Regions from separate parts of the Homo sapiens genome. Here regions 2, 3, 4, 5, 6 and 7 are each linked to region 1. Evidence: promoter capture Hi-C in 16 types of primary human blood cells and fetal thymus (Javierre and others, 2016). All regions are on one chromosome and are shown on one strand. The core of a region is centred on a gene start or on the middle of the fragment in contact, and the rest is flanking DNA. Distances in the headings are between cores, read along the strand shown.

Region 1 (3,416 bases), core at 12-2,511:
TCTTGCTGTGTTGCTACTCCCAATTTCCTGAGTCTGGGTTTTGTAAAGTCTCAAAGCTAATTAGAGTCTACTGTAAATCTATTCCTCCAGAAACTGCATTACACAGTTTGTACATACCAAAAATATGCATAATAAATTTTTCCAGATAGCATTCTAGCTTGTTGATGCCAATTTGGTCCCAAGGTCTTATGCCTCACTTGATTATTTATTTTGTAATTGTTGGGTAAAAACCAGATAAAAGAGAGGCAAAAGAGGAAGTTATAAACTTAATGCTAGTGTCTTAGTGCTGGATGTCACCTTAAATCATGTGTTGACAATAAATTACATCACAAAAACCTTAGCGCTAGAAGAGCTCTTGGATTATCAAATGCAAACTGCTTTTACAGATGAGGAAAACAAACCCAAAAATTTTGCATATTTGTTTAATAACTAACAAACTCATCAAAGCAGAATTGCATTGCAATGTAAACGGATATTTAACACTGTAAATTCTGAGTGGGAAGTAACTCCAAACTTATTTTGATCATGCAAACGTTGCATTGTAAAATTCCATTATTGTCTCCATTATTTTTTTCTTCTCAAGCATTTATGTAGGGATGTATGAAACTGATGTCCACGTAAGGGCAAAATCCAGCCCTACTTTTTATTTTGGGTGAGGAGGAAAACTTTTAAATAGCCCTTTTCAGTTGTAGGATCTTGACATTCCATGTTCAGAATATGAACTGTCTTTAATCCCATTCTACAAAACGAAAACCCAAATATTCACAAAGTCTTGTCAAGTCACATCCTTAAATGAAGTTCTTTTACATTAAAAAATGCTACCGAGCAATCCCTGAAACACAGTGTGGTTGGTTTCATTTGTTTTTCTGGGCATCTCGTTTCCTACACTGGGTTACAACATATTTGTTTGGGTTCGTGGTGGAAATGTCACAGCATGTTTAACTACATTCATTACCCTTGACAATTATTAACATAAAATAAAGGCAAAACGAGGTGCTAAGATGTAGGGGGAAAAAATCGGTCTGAGTAAGGCTGCCCATGCCCTTCCCTGCAAGAATTTCCAAATACCCACCGCCCAGGAGCAAAGGACAGAAAACACAGAGAAGCCCCACCCCTACACCCAGAAATAAAGAGATCCGCCCACCCTTCAACCAACCCGAAGTCGCTTTCTCCGCTCTGTCCACTGCTTGAGCGACTTTCCTTCTCCTCCGCGTCCCCTTTTACGACAGTTTTCCGGCCTAGTTTGCGGCTGCTCCTGCCGTGTTGCGTAGGGCGCCTGTGCTTGAGGTTGGGGGTTGCGTCGCTCTCTGGTAAAGGCGTGCAGGTGTTGGCCGCGGCCTCTGAGCTGGGATGAGCCGTGCTCCCGGTGGAAGCAAGGGAGCCCAGCCGGAGCCATGGTGAGTGCGGCCTTCCGGTCTTCTTGGCGACCTCCGGCCCAGGCCTCAACCTCAGCTCCCCGCCTCGGAGGTGTGGAGTTGAAGTTGTGCTCCTTAGTGCGACTGCGGGCGGGAGGTTTCGGTTATTGGGGAGTCACACTCACCAGGACACAACCCTGTTGGCTCGCTCTCTTGGGGGTTTGTGTTTTTACATCGTCTTTCTGCACGGTTCTCCAGCTTCTTGTCCGCACGGGCTCTGCAGGTGTTGCTTGCCTGGAACTCCTGTAAGGTCAGAGGCTGTCATGGACTCGGAGATTAGTGGAAACGTATTTGATTATAAGTGCCCTTGCCCTAACACATCTTCACAGCACTAGCTCCACTTTGCTATGTCCTTCTCTTTGGCTTTTGCTGACAGATGTCTTCTCCATGCTTCCTGAACATATTTGGGCCTGTCTTGTTAGGAAACAACAGGGCAGTGCCAAAGGTATTAGTCTCCTAGTTTAGCCCACGTTTAGCCTCGAAAATGCGTTGTTAGAATTTTACAGGAGCCGTCTGTAAACAGTTTTTCCTTCTGTAGCAGAAACCTTATTTCCACATTTTTTTTTTTTTTTTTGAGACAGAGTCTTGCTCGGTCGCCTAGGCTGGAGTGCAGTGGCACAATCTTGGCTCACTACAAGCTCCGCCTCCCGGGTTCGCCATTCTCCTGCCTCAGCCTCCCAAGTAGCTGGGATTACAGGCGCCCACCACCACGCCCAGCTAATTTTTTTTTTTTTTGTATTTTTAGTAGAGACGGGGTTTCACCATGGTAGCCAGGATGGTCTCGATCTCCCGACCTAGTGATACGCCCGCCTCGCCTCCCAAAATGCTGGAATTACAGGCGTGAGCCACCGCGCCTGGCCTATTTCCACTACTTTTGATTGAACTTTAATGTGACTTAATTTGTCTGGTGATGAAAGAAGTTTTCAAAGGGAGGGAATCATCTTTTTCACTATTGTAAAGATAAATAAGCAAGTCGAACTTGCCCTCTTTCCCATATGATGAATCCTGTAACTTTAATGCATTCAGCATAACAGATGCAGTAGTTTTAAAGATTACTGGACAGAATATTTCCGCCTTAAAAGTTGTTTCTCTGCCAGGCATGGTGGCTTATGCCTATAATCTTAGCACTTTGGGAGGCCAAGGTGGGAGGATTGCTTGAGGCCAGGAGTTCAAGACCAGCCTAAGCAACATAGCAAGACTCCGTCTCTTAAAAAAAAAAAAAAAAAAAGAAAAAAAAAAGTTGTTTCTCCTATTAAAATGCAGTTTGTAATGAGTTGGGGATGGAAGAATGGGCAAAATGAGAAAGGGTGGGAATTAGAGAAGTAAATATTTACTCTTCTCCCCCTTACCAGGCCAGTACAGTGGTAGCAGTTGGACTGACCATTGCTGCTGCAGGATTTGCAGGTTTGTTTATGGTTTGGGGATGGAAGTGAAGTCGGGGAGATTGGAGATTTAGTTTACTTATTCTGTTGCTTTTGGTTTTAGGCCGTTACGTTTTGCAAGCCATGAAGCATATGGAGCCTCAAGTAAAACAAGTTTTTCAAAGCCTACCAAAATCTGTAAGACTTTGTTAATTCTTTGCTGCTTCTATTTGAAACCTAGAGCCACACTTAGGGAAGGGTAAATTTCCAAATATCCATGAAGTTCTAAGTGATTGCTTTGGACCCATTCTCCTGCTTCCTGCAAGGAGAGTATAGAAGTTCTGAACTTTGTGATGGTGCTACCCTGAAACATCAGATGTTATATGTGACAGAGTTGGATGGGGTTTTGACAATTCTAGTACCCCACTAGACCCAAGTTTCACTTTTTCACATACCATCACCTTCAGCATCATCTGTACATATTCTTGTTTTCCTTCATCTGCTCTGCATCGCACACACAGAGGTATATGATTCTAAAGTGATCCGATCTGACCATGTGGCCCTGGCACTCCCAAACATCATACATAGGTAGCACTCTAGTTAATTAGGCTATAGGGTTTGGCTTGATGTTATGGTCATA
Region 2 (3,179 bases), core at 61-2,560, 1.7 Mb before region 1:
GGGCAGAGCCGCGGGTTCCGAGGGTCCCCGGGGCGAAGCGGGCAGGGGCGCACCTCCGGGCCGCGGGCAGATGGAACCCGGGCTCCCGGGCCGGCGCGCGGGGGGCGGCCGCCTAGACATCCTCTCATTCGGCTGAAGTTTATTCTGGGCCACCGAGAGCTGGAACAGGAAATGTTCCGTCTTTCATGTCCACCGGTGGGCTTCAGACAGTTTTGCACCTCCCGGCGAGCACTGATTAGCCGGCTGAGTTCTGCCGCATTTGAAGTTCACCATTTATTATTAAAGAGAAGTGGCAGTGATTAGTGCTGGGTCCTCGGGGAGTGGAATAAATATTTACTAAATAAGAACGTTCCGCCATAAAGGAACGGCTCGAACAGGTTTCTGAAACCCCGGCGCGGGCCCCAAGTGCCGCCCCCAGGCAGGAAGCGGCGTTGCGGGGCTTTCCGCGAGAGGCTGCCATCTGCAGACCGTGCTGGGCGGCGACCTCCGCGGGGCAGGGCTCGGCCCGGCGCAGCCAGGGCCCGACGAAACTCGGCACTCTGGGCGTTTAAGTTATTTTATAGGCTGTGTTTGTTTTATAAAGGCAGAGGTGAATGTCAAACTAAACTTCGAACCTTTCTTTAATTTAAGGAACAAAGTAACATTTTATCGCTCAAGTAAGGGGACTGTGTTGCTTCCAACGTTAGGAGCATTTTCCAGTATGCTCCAAAGTGTACCCAAATTGTGAGCATCCAAGAAAGCATATTTATGTATATTTCAAAACATTATGTCATACAATGTAAATTATACAGTTTTTATTTGTCAACTGAAGAATAATAGTAAAAAAAAAAGTTTATTTAGTTTATTTGGCAATTAACTTACACGATGGCATCCCTGTCAAAAGCATTCATGTTGGTTGTTTAAAAAGCGTTTTCCTTAATTATTAGAATAATACTTTTACTGTAGAAAATATGAAATTTGCATATATCTAAACATCAGTATCACATGCTTTTTTCCATCATATTTTGCAGTGGGAATTGTCCAATGACATTACATATTTTTAGGGACAAATTTAGTGTCTATATCCATTTATTTAACTTACAGTGAATTAATAAACATTAAGGTAGTTTCAAGTTTTCCTTATTATAATAGCTCAATTAATATTTTTGTATGCAATTCTACACTTGTCTGATTATTCCCTGGCACCATTTTATTTTGAATTTCTTTTATTGTAAGTTGGGTTTAATATTATATTGCGAATAATTACAGAGAAGGGCCAGTTTTTGCTCATCACCATGTACCTGGTGTCTTGTATTATGCTGAGCACATACCAAATGCCCAATAGATATTGATTGAATGAATAAAAGAATAAAAAGTTAGTAGAACATTTGAATTTCTTGTTTTGTGAATTGCTTAATATTATTCATTTATTATGATAAGTTATCTTTTTCTTATGAATTTATAAGCTGTGTTTTAGGTAATAAGGATTTAACCTTCGGTTTGTCGCACATATGGCAAACCTCCCTCCCGTCTACAAAGCATAAGTTTGTGTGTATGTGTGTGTGTTTGGGTACTTTTTGACTTCTAGAAGTTAAAAAAAATTTCATAAGGTTATATTTGGATGATACTCTTTATCACACATGCAAGTTAAATGGCTATAGACAATACTCTACAATCTGTTTTGTGGTATTTTTACATATTTTGGACAGCACATTTTCATTCTTCTATTTATCAAGTTTTTCCCTGGACTTGGAATTTTTTTCAGGATATAACACATGGAGTAAAAAGGTAGTACAATCTTAGTCTTAGTCTGACAAGCACAGGATCTTGAGCCTGGTATCATACCAAAGAAAGATCTGTCAATTTCCCAAACAACCTTTAATTTACCTTTTTCTGATTCACTATTATGAAAGATATGAATAGAAAAAAGATCCCGGTTTTTAAGGGGTTTTCTGTATGTATCTCCTTCCAACTGAATGTGTAATTCCCTTTTATATCTCACCTGGTTTTGGTTGAAGTGACAAGTTTTGGGGACCATGAGTTGGAAATGGGTATAATTATTTGACACAGCAACAATGAAAAACTTTATGAGTATGGATATTCTATTGGTTTGTCAGGGCTGCCATAACAAAACACTGCAGACAAGATGGCTTAAACAATACGAACGTATTTTCTCACAGTTCTGAGGGCTAGAAGTCCAAGTTGAAGGTGTCAGTAGGTTTGGTCTATTCTGAGGCCTCTCTGCTTGGCTTGCAGATGAACTTCTTGCTGTGTCCTCAGATGGCCTGTTCTCTGTTCATGCATGTTTTGTTGAAATTTCTTCTTTTTATGAGGACCCAAGTCATATTGGGTAAGCACCCTTTAAACATCTGATTTTAACCTAATGACCTCTTTAAAGACTTTATCTCCATATATTGTGAGATTTGGAGGTACTGAGGTTGGAACTTCAACATATTCATTTTGGGGGCATGCAATTCAGTCCATAACAGGTATCTAATGGAGAGAGAGATTATGCCTTAGATTTATTTTTAAAAAGATAAATATTACCAGAAATAAAAGCATGGTACAGAAGTTAAAAACTAAGGCAATGCTACAGGATTTAAGTCACAAAAGCAAACAGGATTTCACTTTCCGTGTACTTTTTGTTAGGTTAGGCTTGAGGCCTAGTGGTGGGAAAGAAGCTTGCTTGAAGTAGACTTTTTTGCTTACATCAAGACCTCTTTGGGTTTCTTGTGGCTCTGCTTCATTTCTGGTTTTACTCTAGACATAGGGCAGTCTCTAACTGGGACACCGTTGCTTTTGTGACTAGACCAAAAACAGCCTCAGTGAACCCCAAACTTATAACTTCAACTGAGAATGATATACGTCACTTGGAATTGTTTCACAATTAACTTATTCCATTCAATAAGCATTTAGCAATTGCTTTTGGAGTTATTCGTTTGCCTTTTGAAGATGCTGAAGGAGGCCAGGAATATCAGTGAGAAAAAAGAGGAGAGCTCTTAGCTCAATCAGGTTCTTTTTAGTTTACTACTATTTATCCTTCAAGGCCCATTGAGTTCCTGGAGTTTTCTTGGATAACTCCAGTCAACACTGACATGCTTCTTTCTGCCTACTTTTCATTCATGGATTCATTCCATAAATACTTATTGAAGCCAAGCGTGTGTAGTGGACAAGACAGACATGGTTTGTGCTTTCATGGA
Region 3 (3,064 bases), core at 504-3,003, 1.9 Mb before region 1:
CATATAAGAGATTCAGTCTCTCCACCTCCTAGCCATTTGGTATTATCACTATTTTAACTATTCTAATGGGTGTGGTGATATCCCAATGTGGTTCTAATTTGCTTCTCTCTAACAGGTAATGATGCTGAATATCTTTTCATGTGCTTATTTGTAATCTGCAGCTTTTCTCTGGTGAAATATGTATTATGCATGTGGTGAAATATGAAGTATGCCTTTTGCTCATTTTCTAATTGGATCACTGAATTACTATTGAGTTTGAGAGTTCTTTATGTTTCTAAACATAAAGCCTCTGGAAGATTTGTGGTTTGCAAGTATTTTTCCCCAGTCTGTAGCTTGTCTTTTCATCCTTTTAAGAGGGTCTTTCACAGCACCAAAGTGTTTAACTTTGATTAACTACAACTTATTAATTTTTTTGATTTAGGAATTATGCTTTTAGTGTCATGTCTTCTAGCTCTTTGTCTAACACTAAGTCCTGAAGATTCTGTTTTCTTCTAAAAGTTTGTTTTACATTAAATCTATACTCTAATTGAATTAATTTTTACATACAGTGGGGGTTTGGGTTTGTTTGTTTTGCTATGGGTATCCAATTGTTCTAGCACCATTTGTTGAAAAAGATTACACTTCCTCTATTGTATTGCTTTTGTGCTGTTGCCAAAAATCAATTGGGCCTATTAGTGTTGGTCTGTTCTGGGGTTCTCTATTGTGTAACACTGATCTATGTATCTATTCTTTAACCAACACCAAATTGTCTTGATTACTGTAGCTTATATAGTAACACTTAACATCAATAGCAATTCTTCTCACTTTATTTTTCATTTTCAAAACTGTTCCTTTGCTTTTCTATCTAAATTTCAGAATAAATTTTCTACTTCTACAAAAAAACTTGCTGAGATTTTTATAGAAATTGCATTATACCTATTAATCGATTTGGGAAATCTGGCATCTTTACCGTACGAATCTTTCAACCCATGAACATGATATATTGTTCCATTTATTTAGATCTTTGATTTCTTTCCTCAGTGTTTTGTAATTTTCAGCTGAAAAGATGACAAAAGGTGGTTACCTTCCACCTTTTGCCCATTTTTTTTAATTAGCTTCTCTTTTCATTGTTGACTTGTAGGCAGGTGTGTGTGTGTGTGTGTGTGTGTGTGTGTGTGTGTGTGTGTGTGTGTAAACACATGCACATATATATTATATACTCAGGATACAAGTCTTTGGTCAGATACATGTTTTGCAAATATTGTCTCCCAGTTTGTAACGTGTATGTTCATTTCTTTAAATGTTTAGCCTGATGAGCAGAAGTTTTTAGTTTTGAGAAAGTGTAATTTATCAATTTTTAATTATTATATTTGTTGTATCCTAAGAAATCTTTACCTACTCTAAGTCATAAAGATATCTTTCTAAGTTTTCTTCTAAAAGTATTTTTTGTTTTGTTTTGTTTTGTTTTGTTTTTTTAGATGGAGTTTCGCTCTTGTTGCCCAGGCTGGAGTGCAATGGCACGATCTCATCTCACCACAACCTCCGCCTCCAGGGTTCAAGTGATTCTCCTGCCTCAGCCTCCCAAGTAGCTGGGATTACAAGCATGCACCACCATGCCCGGCTAATTTTTGTATTTTTAGTAGAGACAGGGTTTCTCCATGTTGGTCAGGCTGGTCTCGGACTCCCGACCTCAGGTGATCTGCCCGTCTCGGCCTCCCAAAGTGCTGGGATTACTGGTGTGAGCCACCGCGCCCAGCTCTTCTAAAAGTTTTGTAATTTTAGCTTTTATATTTAGGTCTATGACTTGTTTTCAAAACTTTTTGGAGTACAGCATAAGGCAGAAGCTAAGTTTCATGTTTTTCTCATTTGAATATCCAATTGCTGCATCATTTGTAGAAAATACTAAATTTTTCATTGAATTGACTTGTTACTTGGTTGAAAATCAACAAACCCACACATGAATGGTCTACTTCTCAACTCTCTATTTTATTCTATTGAACTATCATCTTTGTTAATACCATACTGTAATTACTGTAGCTTTATATTAAGTATTTAAATCAGGTAAGGTAAATCTTTTAGCTTTCTTAAGAGATTGTTTTTGCTGTGCATCTGAATATGCATTTTGGCTATTGCATTTCAATATACACTTTAGTATTACCTTGTCAATTACTACAAAAAGATTGCTGTGATTTTGAGACTGAGGGAATCTACACAGTAACTGACAGCTTAACAATACTGAGCTTGACAATCTATTAATGTGATTTCTCCATTTATTTAGTTCTTAATTTATCTTGCCATGTTTTGTAATTTTCATTATATAAATCTTGCACAAGTTAAAAAAAAACTTATTCCTAAATATATTACGCTTTTTGATACTACTGTAAATATAACCTTTTAAAAATTTCATTTTCTTAACTGTTTCTTACTATTATAAGATATAAAAATGATTTATTGGCCGGGCACAGTGGCTCACACCTGCAGGGAGGCCGAGGTAGGCGGATCAAGAGGTCAAGAGATCAAGACATCCTGGCCAACATGGTGAAACCCTGTCTCTACTAAAAAATACAAAAATGAGCTGGGTGTTGTGGCGCGCACCTGTGGTCCCAGCCACTCGGGAGGCTGAGGCAAAAGAATCGCTTGAACCCGGGAGGCGGAGGTTGCAGAGAGCCGAGATCGCACCACTGCACTCCAGCCTGGTGACAGAGTGAGACTCTGTCTCAAAAAAATAAAAATAAAAAAGGTTTCTCTTTATTTACCTTGTATTCTGAGACCAACTTGCTTATTATAGTTTTCTTATTGAATACTTATGTCTGTTTACATGAAAAATCATGTGTCTTCCAGTAGGACAATTTTACTTCGTGCTTTCTAGTACTTATGGCTTTTAATTCCTTTAACTTGTTGCACTGAATGAGGCTTCTAGAATAATGTTAAAAAGTAGTGAGACTGGATAGTCTAGGTACAAGTCCTTTACAAGATATATGCTTTGCAGACATTTTCTCTGGTCTATGGCTTGTATTTTTAAATTTTTTGTTTTAGTTTCTGGCATCTTCACAACATAAACAGTGCCTTTTTAAGTGTTTAAGTC
Region 4 (3,275 bases), core at 647-3,146, 1.8 Mb after region 1:
GTTTTATTTTGTCCCAAAATGTGAGATGAAAAAACTTAAGCAAAATACCAACACACACACACACACACACACACACACACACGTAAACACACACAGTCCTCTTCAGATAATTTTGGCTGATGACACTGCAGAACAGTTAATCTGATAATTAAAAATTTCCAGAACATGTGATGTTTAGATGGAGATCTATGCTGTCAATCGGACCTCAGTGCTTCAGTTAAAAGGAAAAAAAAAAAACACCAAAAACTTAAAACCTGAATACAAAGACACGTTAAATTGTTAAGACTGTAGTTGCTTTGAAAGCAAAGTGTTTTGATTTATCCAAACTAACTTAGCAACACGGTATTTTGAGTATTTTCCAGAAGTTTTCTTAAAACACGCAATCCAGCACATAAACAAATTTTGTACGGTGCAATGTAAGCAAATACTCAGAAAAATTCAATTTCTAAGCAGGATAACATATGACCAATATTGCCCTCAGTGGTTCAAAAGTCGCAGTAGAAATAATCCCCTGAGATAACCTGGAATTTACCTACCCAAGTATTCTAAGGGGTTCTCCCCGGCCACACAAACTATGATTCAAAACATCGTTCCGAAAACCCAGGTCCTGCATGTGCACAAAGGCGCAGTGCTGGAATGAGGAAGCTTCACCAAGATGAAATCACAACTCTAATTCATTAAAGAATATGCAGACTGTTTTCTAGAAAGACCCTCTTGTTGCGCTCCCTTTACCCTACCCTTTATTTAACCATGTAAACAGTCTCAATTATTGACATAAAAAAATAGCTTTCGATTCCCAAGTCTGGTAACACGGTTGGCCACCATCACTATTCCTTTAGCATCCTAAAATAAACCCCTCGAGCCGAGGTCAAAAACACGCCGGCTGAACGTCTGGTGTTTACATAGCCCAATCCCGGGCCCTACCCTACCTTTCCGAGCCACTTAAGAGCCATGGAACAGGCATCACATAATACACTTAGTAAAGAGACAAGTCACATGAGTCAGTGTCTCAGGTCTATGAATGAAAGATCTAAGCGTTTGTCTCAGCTAAAAGGAAAAAACAACCTCGAAAGGAAGGGTGGGAGGGGAGCTGGCGGGGGTGAGGGGAGCGGTGTTCCTTCCATACCCCTGCCGGGCGATTTAAACCCAGTAAGAGGCAAACGCAGGGCCGCCAGGCTGGCGGGGCCGGAGTCCTCGGGCGTGACAGCCCCTCAAGAAAAGCTCGCGGTTTCGCGCCCGCGTCCCTTGAGCCGCAGTCCTCGCGGCAGCCCCTCCACCCGCGGGCTGGGTGGGCGTGCAGGGCGCGGGAGACAGAGCCACCGCGGCCGGGGCGGCGGCCCTGGGCGCACTTCCTCAACCTCCAGCCGCCCCGTCCCCAAAACTGGGAGTAGAAGCAAAGGAAGAGCGAGGCGGCAGCCAGAGAGAAAGGAGAGGGAGCGGCGAGCCCTCGCCTCTGCAGCTAGGAGAGGCCAGAGGCAGGCGAGGGAGAGGGTGCGGCGATCGCAGGCGAACTCCGCCGCGGGCCGACGCTGGGAGACGACCAGCCCGTAGCCTCCGCCCAACACGGCGGGCGCGCCCGGGAGTCTCCGGCACCCACCCGGTCCCCATTCCCACCGCACCCGCTACCGGCCAGTCCGCGCTCTACTCACGCTCGGGGCTCTTCCAGGCTCCGCGGCTCTAACCGCATCGGGTCCCAGCCCCGCGGGCGGCGGCGGCGGCGCCGAGGGAGAGGAGAGCGGGCGGCACGGCCCCCGCCTCCCGGCCCCTCTCCCCCGCCGCTCCGGAGCTGCCCGGCCGGGCCCGAGCCCTGCCTCGCCGGCGGCCCCAGCCCCAGTCCCAGCGGCCGCGGCAGCAGCAGCCCGACACCTCAGCGGCCGCAGCGGCGGCACCGGAACTGCCGCTTTCTACTTCTCGCTCCCTCTCCTCGCTAGCCCCCGCCACACGCCCCCGCCCCCGACTCCTTTCTCCGTCGCCCCTGTTTTTTTTTCCTTTTGTTTCCAGAATAAACTTTATTGGTCTCTTTTTCCGCTCACATCGTGTAAACAAACAACGAACTCTTCCCCACCCCCTCGGCCCCCCCCCTCCTCCGGCAGAAGAGGGTAAGAGCTGAGGAGGGGCAGAGCCTACAATCCCCCGGAAGCAGATGCGCAAAGAAGCGGAAGCGAAATTGAGGCGAGGAGGAGCAGGGAGTGGGCAAATAGGGTAACAATATGTGCTACTGCGCCTGCGTCTTGCTTTTCCGCCCGAAGTTTATGTACAGTTGGGGCTGCTCTTCTGACGTTTGTTTAATGATCCGTCTTCTGCAGTAGTGAGGGTGTTGTGTCATCCTAGGACAGCGTACGTGTAGTATATTTGTTTCTACGAGCAGCAGGCGAGCTGGGGTAGAGATATAGAAAGGAATATTGGGAGCAAGTGGGTTATTTCACTTTTACACCCATAGAGGAAACGAGATTAGTTCGGGGGTGAGAGGAGGTGCGGTGGCTAACCGCCGCTGTCAGTGGCTAACCAGCGTGGTTATGGATTCTATAATAGAAAGAATGCTTTTTACAAAGCGTTGCTGTGCGTTCTTCTGCCGACATGGTTTAAGTTGTATACCATCCCGAAGGCGGAATGCACTGTCACAGCCCTCTGCAGTCCTTTGACTCACTTCGTGGAGACCTTTTGCTATGCCCTCATTTTTTTTTTTAAATCGAATTCTGATTCGAAGCAGCTTGTAGGATTCAATTCTAACTATTCAGAAGACGTGGGGGATTTTTCGCGTAATGCCAACAGAGACTTCAGAAATGTCATATAGGCTATAGATTTGATTCAAGGTAGTGTCTTGGTGCTGCGTACCTTAGAAGTCTGTTTGCTTGAGAGTAAATCAATCTGTTGACTTTTGAGATTACTACTGATAAGGGTTCGGTACTGTGCGTTTTTCTCCCCCTACTGGTCTTTTGTTGTAATATTGGAAAAGCGTAGGAGCAGTGATTAGAAGTCTGAGATACAAGTACTCCAGCATCGGTTCCTCCTTGAATTTTTAAGTAATAGAGGGCTTGGGAAGTGACCCATCCTAGAGATGTTACAGTCCTACTTGTCCTCTAGAGCAAAACTCTGACCAATAACAGTCTTCTCGAACACCGCACGTCCGTCCATACCCCAATGGTAAATGAGATGGATCTGTTCCTCTTTGTGGTCGTAGTTTCACTTGACTGTATTTCTTTCTTTTCTGTGTTTTCTTTCTTTCGTCCTTTTTCTCCCTTTAGCTCGGATTTTCATCTCACATTCCAGGGGTT
Region 5 (3,537 bases), core at 441-2,940, 1.7 Mb after region 1:
TGGCCTGGATTCAGGCTGTTAGGTGAGAGGAGGAGGCACACGGATCAGGAAGGGTCTGACTCCTACTTAGGGCCGAACGATAACCAAATGTCTATCGGACTTCCTTTCAGCACAATGGTGATGCCTACTCAAGACCAAAAATGCTAACCATCCTTCATTTTAGCAATCATTTTTATGTGCCTTTTGTGTGCATAACAGCCTTGAAAAAACTTAGCTTTCTACTCAAGGATGTCATAAACATTTGCTCACTAGTCTTCTTAGCAGGAAGATTCTGAATCACAAGCAACCTATCACAGTCCCCCCTCCCTCTGAAATACAAACGACATATGTAACACGTGTCACTGCAGAAAAATCAGAAAAATGTTTAAAAATTTTTTATATCACCTAGAAACCAACATCTTTCCACCTGTCATTTTTTTCAACCAACAAGAAAGTCTATGCACAAAATAGAATACATACAACAGGCAGTCAGCAATCATCAAATAGATAAACGTTTCAAAAGGCCTTTCATGCAATGTATATTCTTCCTAATTGCTGTAAGACGTCTTTACAGTAAATAACTCCATTTTTAACGAGTTTAAAAAGAGTTAAGCTTTCTTTTTCGTTCTCATTAAAATAAGCATATGCTTTAAATTGTAAAAGAATTGAAACAAAAACATGTTGCAGGAGAGCCTGAACTAGAATCCACTACATGTCCAACGTGGAGGCAGTCTTTACTGCAATATCACACGGTCACTAAATACTTGATTCGCTATTTTTCAGTCCGGCATAAATCTTTCTCTTCGAAAAAAACAAAAAAGGCATAAACTGCTTCAAATGATTCGTTTCCCTAGACAGTACTTAAAGACAAAACCAAAAAAGGGGGTTTCTAAGCACCGTCACACGAGTGAGGCGACTCTCAGGCTGGAGGCTTTGGGCGCCAGCATCGACGCCTGCTCTCCGCGGCTACAACTCGTTGCGCGAGCCCGGGGATTCGCCGCCGGAGGTCACGAAGCCGCCGGGCAGGGCCGCAGCGCCAGCGAGGACCCAGGATCGTCCCGAGCCCGGACGCAGCCAGACAAATGCCCGTCGGAGGCGCAGGGCAGAAGTCCCTGGGACTTAGCCGCCTCCACCCCGGCGCCACGCACCAGCTTCGCCCGGGCCCAGAAGCCGGCGCCAAGGAGACTTCCAAGCCCCGACACCAAAGGTTCCGTAAAGACAACGGCAGCAGGGGGCCGAGGGGAGCCCGGCCAAGGCGTCCTGCGCAGGGGGTGGAACTGCCTTCGGGATGGGGGAGGGGAACGCCATCCCGCCATATAACGAAGGCAGAGTTTCCGTATAAAGGGAGCTCCGGTCTCTCCCGCCCTCTCCCGTTAGAAGATGCGCCCGCACGCCCGCGTCCCCTGGAGCAGTCCAGCGCCCGACCCACCCGCTCCTCCCTCACACTCACCAGTCAGTCCCCCGAGGCCCTCCCGGCCGGCCCACGCAGAGGCGGCGGCGGCCGAGAGCGCAGGCGGAGGGGCCGCGCGGTCCTTCCCGCGGACGCACGGCGGCGGGCAGCGCTGCTCCGGCCCTAGCGCTCCCGGACGCTGTGCTGGGCCGACCCCTCTCCCTCCCCGCGCGCCCCACGCCCTGAGCGCCAGGCCCCTGGCCTAGGCTCCGCGGCCGCACTGCCCTGGCCGCCACGCTCCGCGCCTGCGCCGCGCACCTCAGGGGCCCGCCGAGAGGGCGGGGAGGTGACGAGGTGAGGTGGGGGCAGGGAGCGGGCTGCGCGAACGCACCGCACACGCGGCCTGGGAGGGACCACCGGCCCGCAGCCCCGGGGGAGGCCCAGCGGCCCGCGCCCCCTGCCGGAGGCCTTGCGCCGCCGCAGTCTCCTTCTGGGCGGGGAAGAGCCCCTCCCGAGCCCCGAGGGCGATCCCACCCTCTAGGATTACTCCACGCCAGGCGGCCAGCGAATTTATCCCGCCCGCCTCCACCGCCCCTTCAAGCCCTGGGGAACTGGGAGAAACGTGGCGCGCAGCGGCACCTTTCCCACGCTGCTCCTCAAGGGAAAGGACGCGAGTGGTCTTGCCCAGGTTAGGCAAGGCAGATGGCATCTCAGACCCCGAAGTGTGCCAGCCGCCTGTTGGGGACAGAGAGGCCGAGGACCTCGTCACGGTTTTACTGAGGCCACACCAGAGAACCACCTAGGGCTAGGATGCTGCCCTCAGGGCAAGAGGGTGAAACCTGAAGACTGCGAGTCGTTGTTGAGTTTCACCCGATTCCTTGGCTCGAGAAATAGTGGAATGAATGAGGAGTTAAGGGGGACTGGACTCGACGATTTAAGTCCTTTCTCGACTTTGACTTTCTTTGAGCAGCTGTAGAAATGATTAAATTACACGAGCATAAATAAATTTGTGAACATGGTTCCATAAATGATCTCTGTGCAAGTGTGGTGATATGTTTAATTCAGTCCTTTTGACAATGAGTTGAGGTTTTTAGTCACATTTTACAAAATGGAAAAGTAAATGTGTGAGAAGCTAAAGACTGGGTCTTAATTCATTTTGGTAGCCTAAACCCCTGAGGTTCAAACGGTTAAGAGGATGACTGAGAGCCATGTGGATTATCAGGTACCCAAGGTCACTCGGATAGTTAGGGCTGCAATGATGTCTCTTTGTTCACGTCCACTGCTTTTTCTGACAACCACATGCCAATCAACCAATCAATCGCTGGAAAGTAATAATCACAGACTTTACTCTGATCCCTTCACCATCCCCCAGGAGATAAAGCTATATTTGAAAGAGACACTACTTGTTTGTGAGGCTCAGTTTTTATGACCTCCTAAGTTTTATGTGCGTACTCAGCTCAAATAAATGCTCACGAATGCTAGTATGGCCCGAATTAAAGTTCGAAGAAATGTAGAGACATTTTTAAATCCTAGAATAGTTAGTATCTAGCACAGAACCGGGAATCGGTGGAAACCACAAGGGGGTGTCATGCCACCATCTTACCATTTTGCCTTACCACATAGCCTTGTGTCCAACAAAATCTTTATATTTCAAAATGAAGTTTTACTCCAAAACATTTTGTAGTGAAAGTAAACGCACACTCTCCCCAGCATCCCACGTATTGTTTGCACTTAGAGGAGCTTGACTTTGTTTAGATGTTGTTTAACATAGTCACAAATTGCAAGCAATTTCAAGTTCTTGATTAGCTGGAGTGTTTTTCAGTTTCATTTTTGGGTCCCTCTTTTCCTCATCTCCCGCTCCAAGGGAGGGTGATAGCTGGGATAAAACCCTAAAATCTCAAGAGTGCTAAATTGTAGAGTTTGTTAAATACTATTATAAATTTGATTCAGGGCTATTAAAACATCGTTCTTCCAACTTTTTCACACACTTGTAGAATAGCTTAATTTCTCCTTCCTTTCCTTCCTTCCTTTTCTTTTTTTTCTTTTTTCTTTCTCACGGTCTCACTCTGTCGCCCAGGCTCCAGTACAGAGATGGGATATCGGCTCACTGCAATCTCCACCTCCTAAATTCAAGCAATTCTCGTGCCCCACCCTTCAGATTAGCTGAG
Region 6 (3,539 bases), core at 530-3,029, 1.8 Mb before region 1:
TTCCTATGTTATTTGTAGATTATGTATAGAGATGCTCAATGACTATAGGCATAACTAGAAAAATAAATAAAAATGAAAATACAATCCATAGCTTATAATCATCAAAGGGAAAAAATATGAAGAAACTTAACTTCAATGCAAAGCTAATCAAAATCTAGAACTATTTTCCATGGAGCTAGACAAACACTGTAAGTGGCATATGGAAGAATAAAGTTCAGTATAATTGTAAAAAGAAAAAAAAAGAAGGTGGGGGTTCTGCCTGCCAAATACCAAGACTTATCATTAAAATACTATAATTAAGACAGAGCATTATTTGTGCACCAAGAAATGAATGAAATGGAATACAGAATCTAGAATGAGACCAAGGTATATGAAAGAGAATGCTGGTATATGACAGAGTATGTGAAAGAGAATGCTGGTACGTGTCCTAAATGTGTCACTTATGACAGAGAAGGCAAACAACACAGACTCGTGGAGGAAGGATGCCTCATTCAATAAACAGCATTGACACAACTTTCTATACGGGAGAAAACAAATTCCCTTCCTTATTCCATATACAAAAATTGATTCCAGGTATCTTTAAAGATCTAAATGTTAAAAAACTAATTTTAAAACAATTTGAAGAAAACGCTGGAAAAACAGCTTTATGATCCTAGTATAACAAAGGAATTGTCAAATATGTAATAAAAAGCAGAAATCATATGTCTAATAAATTTACCTACAAATAAATTTAAACTTTCTGTATAAAAAAAGATACCATAAACTAAATTAAATACACGGAACAGACTAGAAGATATTTACAACATATACAACAAAGAATTGGCATCCAGGCTATAGCAAGAATTAGGAAAGGCCAAACTACCCAATGGAAAACGGGCAATCTATTCATGTGAATGAAATTGAGGATACCTGCATCTCACCAGCAATCAAGAAAATGCAAATTAGAACAAAATGAGACACTATTTCACACCCATCAGACTGGTACGTTTTTTCAAGTCTGACAGTACAAAGTGTTGAGCAAGATGTAGGGAAAGGAGAACTCTGTTTTAGAAAATACTTTGGCAATATTTAGTAACAGTCATAATGTACGTGACCCATGACCCAGCAATTCCACTTCTGGGTATTTAACTTCAAAATAAATAAATAAATAAACAATAATAGTCATTGTAACACTTTTTGTAACAGGAAAAAATTGGCAACAATCCGAATATACATTAGAAAAAAAGAACCCCCCATAAGATTGGCTGGGGCAGGGATTACTTCATTTTGGTAGTTCCAAAGCCTAGCAACAAATATGCTATCACAGAAAACTAATTCACTTACAGAAAATGACTCAATTCATCAATACATGAGAAAGAAATGGTGTCACCTAAAAGGGGATGCAGAGTTGAGAAATGGCTTTTGTTAAATGGAGAACAAAACTAAAGCAGACAAAATCCCTTCCTTCCTGAGATAAATGAGACTAGCAAGTTTTGGAGTAGGTTAAATAGCATTAAGTGCTGAGAAATCAAGCAAGGAAAGGCAACAGGGAAGTAATGGGGAGGGTCAGAACATTATACTGAATGGCTGGAAAAAGCTTCACTCATGAATAACGCAATATTTGAATAAAGACTTGAAAGGAGCGAAGGAGCCAGCAGATGTCTGCAGGAAGAACATTCCAGGTAGAGGTAGTAACAGTCAGGACAAAGCTCCTAAAACTGAAGTATGCCTGGGACTTCTGAATTGCAATAAGGCTAGTGTGAATAAAGAGTGAGAGAATAGTGATGGAGGATGAGAAATGGATTGGAAGAAGTGTAGGGGTTGGCATACAGATCAAGCAGAGACTTTGGCTTTTACTCTGAACAAAAGAGCAAGCACTTGGAAAATCTTAGGCAGAGGAATTATATGATCTAACCTGTTTAATAAGATCACTCTGGTGGGTATATTGAAAACAGACTGCAAGGACAGAAGGGGAGAAACAATGAGATGAACTAGGAAGCTTTTGCAATAATCTAGGTAAGAGGTAGCAGTAGTTTAGTTGAGGGTGGTGGCAGAGAAAGACGAGAGAAATGGTTCTGGATATATCATTTTTAGCAACAACAAAAAGGGAGATACGATTTGCTCCCCAAACACTTAGATGTATTCATGTTATAAGTAAAACACTTTTTAAAATGCATTTTTTAAAAAATTGACAAAAATTCTGTATATTTATGGTGCACAACATGATGTTTTGAAGCAAAGCATTTTTTGATTCATGTGTCTTTCTTTGATTTCTTCTCCCCACAGAGGTATCCATAGAAAAAGAGCAGTTGACTTTTAAAGAACTACATCTCCTGCTTAGAATTTGACAGATTCTTAGTAAATTTATTAGCAATACATATTATGCATGTACCTTTTATTATTAATATAACTGAATTAAATCAAGAGTTAAGGGGAGAGTTTTACATTAACTTATATTAATAATCACTGATGTAACTGACATAAAATAAAATTTCTACACTTGTAAAAATAAGAATTTGAGAATGGAAGGAAAGGAAGAAGCGATTTTGGAGATAAATACAGAAATATTTATGGGTAAAATTATATAATGTCTGGGATTTGCTTCAAAATCACTAAAGGGAGTGAGGATAGTGGGTGGGGGGAATAGATAAAACAAGATTGGTCATGTGCCGATAACTGTAAAAGTTGGGTAAAGGATAAATTATACCATTTGCCCAACTTTATACCATAAAGGGGCTCATTATACCATTATCTCTACTTTTGCAGGTGATTGAAATTTTCTATAACATAATGCTTAAAGAAAGAATAAAAATAACCTGTACCAGCTTTACCGGCTTCACACAGTAAGAATAAGCTACATATATACAACATCTGTTTCTGTTCCTAACTTTTCCAAAATGTACGTGAATGAATGAATGATTGATACCTATGCATATCATCCTATTCTTCCTCCTTTCCTGAGGGGGAACTTCACTTCCAATTAAAATGTGGAGACAGACACAGCTTAACTAATTAATATCCTTAATTTGGTATTTCATCTAAATTTTGGACAATCTAATAGTTTTAAAGAGAAACAAGTATGATTATCTGCATAAGCCATAACTTAATGTTAAGGAGGATAAACTACATGCTAAAAATTTCAAAGGAAGGCCTGGTGGGATGGGTCACACCTGTAATCCCAGCACTCTGGGAGGCCGAAGTGGATTGATCATCTGAGGTCCAGGGTTCGAGACTGGCCTGGCCAACATGGCGAAACCCTGTCTCTACTAACAATACGAAAAAATCCGTTGGGCATGGTGGGACGTGCCTGTAATCCCAGCTACTCAGGAGGCTGAGGCAGGAGAATCACCTGAATCTGGGCGGGGCTGGGGGGGGTGGGGGGCGGAGGTTGCAGTGAGCGGAGATCGCGCCACTGCACTCTAGCCTGGGTGACAAAGCGAGACTGTCTTAAAAAAAAAAAAAAATCAAAAGAATTTGCCAATACCATGTATAGGATAAGAAAATACGAAAATTAAAAATTGTACAATTTTAAGTGAGCCAGTCAGCAAAAAAATTTGTGT
Region 7 (3,118 bases), core at 81-2,580, 1.8 Mb before region 1:
AAGAATGTGAAGGCAGCAACATGGGGCAGGGCAAAGAACTGCTGACCTAAGACAACATCCTTGGGAAAGACGAGGTTAGGATTAGAGAAAAGATGTTAGTTGCTTTAGAAGAGAGGGAAGGAGCAATGCAAAGATGCTTCTTAAGGTGCCCTTTCAGGCAATAGTTATGATATAAGGAAAACTTTACCCTCAGTCTCTTTGACTCATATCCTCTATAACTGTACCGTCCAAGCCACTAGTCACATGTAGCTACTGACATTTAAATAAAAATTAAATTAAACTTCAGTTTCTGAGTGCACTAGCCATATTTCAAGGCCTTGATAACCTTGTATAATTTATTGGCCATCATATGGGACAATTCCATCATGACAGAAAAGTCTACTGCAAAGTACTATTCTACAGTCTTTAGCTTCAGAATAACCTAAGACAACTTAAAAATGCCACAGGAAAAAATGAAACAAGGAAGAATATATAAGAGTGAAGCTGTACTTTGGCACCATAAAATGTGTACAAATGAGTGATAAAATTGGAGGAAGCAGACTTTAAAGCAACACAGAACTGAGTTTAAATTCCAATCTATGGCCGGGTGCAGTGGCTCATACCTGTAATCCCAGCACTTTGGGAGGCCGAGGTGGGTGGATCATGAGGTCTGGAGTTCAAGACCAGCCTGGCCAAGGTGGTGAAATCCCATCTCCACTAATCATACAAAAATTAGCTGGGCATGGTAGCAGGTACCTGTAATCCCAGCTACTTGGGAGGCTGAGGCAGAGAATGGCTTGAACCCGAGAGGCAGAGGTTGCAATGGGCCAAGATTGCACCACTGCATTCCAGCCTGGGTGACACAGCGAGACTCTGTCTCAAAAAAACAAGCAAACAAAAAAAACCCCAAAAATCCAATCTAGCCATTTACTAGTGAGCAACCTTGGGAAAATTATTCCATTTCCTAGGACTTCAATTGAGGAAACTGATTTAAAATCAGTATAACACTGCTTTGTAAAATAGATTTCATAAAAGCTATCTCATAGGGTTGTTGTAAGGATTAAATGATATGAGAAGTACTTAATATAGTTTCTGGTACATAGCATAAATATTAGTTCCTTAGTTTACTAGCAACTAAAGATAATTTTTTGGCATGTGGGCTACTGATATCAGCAATTAGCCACTCCTTGTATTCTACAGTTAACCATTTTGGTTAAGATAAATCGACCACCGTTTTCTTGAATTTGTAAGGATATAAATAAATACACACACACACATATAATCACTTTTAAAAATAAAATGATCCATATCTACAGTTTTAATAATAATTTTTTTTTTTGAGACATGGTCTCACTCTGTTGCCCAGGTTGGAGTGCAGTGGCACAATCACAGCTCACTGCACCCTCGACTTCCCAGGCTGAAGCCAGCCTCCAGAGTAGCTGTCAGTAGAGGTGTGCCACCACACCTGGCTAATTTTTTGATTTTTTGCAGAGACAAGGTCTCATTATGTTGCCCACACTGGTCGCAAACTCCTGGGCTTAACCGATCCTCTCGCCTTGGCCTCCCAAAGTGCTGGGATGATGGGTATGAGCCACTGCACCTGGCCTAACAATAAAAATTTTAATTCTTACCTTAGATGAAATGATCCTGTTATCTATAAATTTCTGAGGTGTGTAAAGGCCATTCTGAGGAAACCTGTTGGCTACGTAGATGGTTCTTGTGTCACTCTGATGTGGTGGGTCAAAACCCTAAGACCAATCAAGCAAGAGAAAAAGAAATACTAGTCAACCAGGTTAGTTATGATACTTTACTGTTAGCTTTATTTAGCTGGTCAGATTACATATATTACTATTGCCCTTAAAATGCATATAGACTCAATCCATCTAATTAGAAGAGCTATGCCACCTATTTTTTTTCTTTCACAGGTAAACAGGTACATTATCTCCAGATAGAAACTTTACTATTTTTTTTTCTTTCACAGGTAAACAGGTACATTATCTCCAGATAGAAACTTAACTAGGTAATGCCTTTAGTAATGAAAAACAGTTCATTCTCTGTCAGAAATACTACTATATTGAAAAAAAATCATATGGGAGACCTATAGAAGTATTTGAGGACAAATTTTCTATCCCTACTGCATTCCTTCCCTTTCATTTCTATGGATGGATTTCTACTCAGTGATGTGGAAGTCCTGTGTAGCTACAGCCTAATAAGCACCTACCACATCTGATGGCAAAGGTTTATATTTATTTTACTTTTTCCATCCCCAGACTGACTTGGTTGCAAAGAGCTTTGTTCCCAGATGACTTACAGTGCATTAGGTAGGGTCTTGCCCAGACTCATTCCACACAATCACTTATTTGAGCCATTATAGTATCAATTGACTTACTGAAATAGAGATATGAATATGCTGTAATTCCTGGCCTTTGGGAACTCATATCCTGACCTCAGATTGAGAAGACCATCTGTCAAGGCATATTAGTAATCACCTCTGGTAGAAAAGATTTCACGGGTAACAAGAACACTGAAACTTTATTCTTAGAGGACTGTATTTCCACTTCCACAGTTGCAAGTGAACCTTCAAGACACTTTAACATTCGGCATATTGTCTAGGGTTTTGAAATATTAGAAAAAAGACGCCGGGCGCGCTGGCTTATGCCTGTAATCCTAGCACTTTGGGAGGCTGAGGCGGGCGGATCACGAGCTCAGGAGATCGAGACCATCCTGGCCAACATGGTGAAACCCCGTCTCTACTAAAAAATACAAAAAAAATTAGCCGGGCGTGGTGGCGGGCGCCTGTAGTCCCAGCTACTCTGAGCAGGAGAATGGCGGGAACCCGGGAGGCGGAGCTTGCAGTGAGCCGAAATCGCGCCACTGCACTCCAGCCTGGGACACGGGGAGAGACTCCGTCTCAAAAAAAAAAAAAAAGAAATATTAGAAAAAAGAAAAAAAGACTCTTTTGGCAGATCTTGGGAACCCACTGATGGGCTGAAAGCAATATCCAAATGAAAGACTTTCTTTCTTTGGTTCTAACAGGAAAACGATTCAAAATTCCTTAGGTTTTTTTCTTTTTTTCTTTTTTTTTTTTTTTACATAGTGGTCATGGGCTATTTACTAGTACTACTAAGCAGTTATTAAA

Evidence for each region. The method cuts DNA at HindIII sites, captures the fragments that hold promoters and counts their contacts. A CHiCAGO score of 5 or more calls a contact.
Region 2: a contact is called between a fragment that was not itself captured here and the fragment with the promoter of DNAJC19 in region 1, in 1 of 17 cell types (total B cells). The highest score is 5.2, in total B cells.
Region 3: a fragment that was not itself captured here is called in contact with the fragment with the promoter of DNAJC19 in region 1 in 1 of 17 cell types (naive CD8 T cells); the score reaches 6.0 in naive CD8 T cells.
Region 4: a contact is called between the fragment with the promoter of PIK3CA here and the fragment with the promoter of DNAJC19 in region 1, in 3 of 17 cell types (naive CD8 T cells, activated CD4 T cells and total B cells). The highest score is 9.2, in naive CD8 T cells.
Region 5: the fragment with the promoter of ZNF639 here is called in contact with the fragment with the promoter of DNAJC19 in region 1 in 3 of 17 cell types (monocytes, naive CD8 T cells and non-activated CD4 T cells); the score reaches 5.6 in monocytes.
Region 6: a fragment that was not itself captured here is called in contact with the fragment with the promoter of DNAJC19 in region 1 in 1 of 17 cell types (naive CD8 T cells); the score reaches 7.7 in naive CD8 T cells.
Region 7: a fragment that was not itself captured here is called in contact with the fragment with the promoter of DNAJC19 in region 1 in 1 of 17 cell types (total CD4 T cells); the score reaches 6.9 in total CD4 T cells.

Annotation. Positions count from the first base shown.
Region 1 is chr3:180,987,581-180,990,996 of GRCh38, reverse strand. It overlaps DNAJC19 (DnaJ heat shock protein family (Hsp40) member C19), which reads left to right and starts at 1,261. Exons shown (of 6, transcript NM_145261.4): 1 at 1,261-1,397; 2 at 2,768-2,819; 3 at 2,901-2,974. The coding sequence starts at 1,395. The HindIII fragment of the contact is 8,604 bases long and covers 1-3,416 here.
Region 2 is chr3:182,679,658-182,682,836 of GRCh38, reverse strand. No RefSeq gene overlaps it. Among named protein-coding and RNA genes, the nearest start is that of LINC02031, 37 kb to the right of the region's middle. RefSeq lists silencers at 26-95, 506-575 and an enhancer at 306-355. The HindIII fragment of the contact is 2,704 bases long and covers 1-2,662 here.
Region 3 is chr3:182,852,861-182,855,924 of GRCh38, reverse strand. The region is part of intron 10 of ATP11B (ATPase phospholipid transporting 11B (putative)); the gene reads right to left. Among named protein-coding and RNA genes, the nearest start is that of ATP11B, 61 kb to the right of the region's middle. The HindIII fragment of the contact is 5,370 bases long and covers 1-3,064 here.
Region 4 is chr3:179,146,978-179,150,252 of GRCh38, reverse strand. PIK3CA (phosphatidylinositol-4,5-bisphosphate 3-kinase catalytic subunit alpha) reads right to left here and starts at 1,896. Exons shown (of 21, transcript NM_006218.4): 1 at 1,650-1,896. It overlaps PIK3CA-DT (PIK3CA divergent transcript), which reads left to right and starts at 2,280. Exons shown (of 3, transcript NR_125401.1): 1 at 2,280-2,337. RefSeq lists enhancers at 422-471, 1,033-1,532, 2,342-2,461, 3,072-3,181 and silencers at 1,272-1,321, 1,382-1,851. The HindIII fragment of the contact is 3,906 bases long and covers 648-3,275 here.
Region 5 is chr3:179,321,184-179,324,720 of GRCh38, reverse strand. It overlaps ZNF639 (zinc finger protein 639), which reads right to left and starts at 1,690. Exons shown (of 6, transcript NM_001303426.2): 1 at 1,430-1,690. RefSeq lists an enhancer at 731-780 and silencers at 1,351-1,490, 1,521-1,960. The HindIII fragment of the contact is 4,241 bases long and covers 595-3,537 here.
Region 6 is chr3:182,800,690-182,804,228 of GRCh38, reverse strand. All of the region lies in intron 1 of ATP11B (ATPase phospholipid transporting 11B (putative)), which reads right to left. Among named protein-coding and RNA genes, the nearest start is that of ATP11B, 9.0 kb to the right of the region's middle. RefSeq lists a silencer at 1,514-1,808. The HindIII fragment of the contact is 402 bases long and covers 1,579-1,980 here.
Region 7 is chr3:182,818,869-182,821,986 of GRCh38, reverse strand. ATP11B (ATPase phospholipid transporting 11B (putative)) reads right to left here. Exons shown (of 30, transcript NM_014616.3): 2 at 1,611-1,727. Among named protein-coding and RNA genes, the nearest start is that of ATP11B, 27 kb to the right of the region's middle. The HindIII fragment of the contact is 7,894 bases long and covers 1-3,118 here.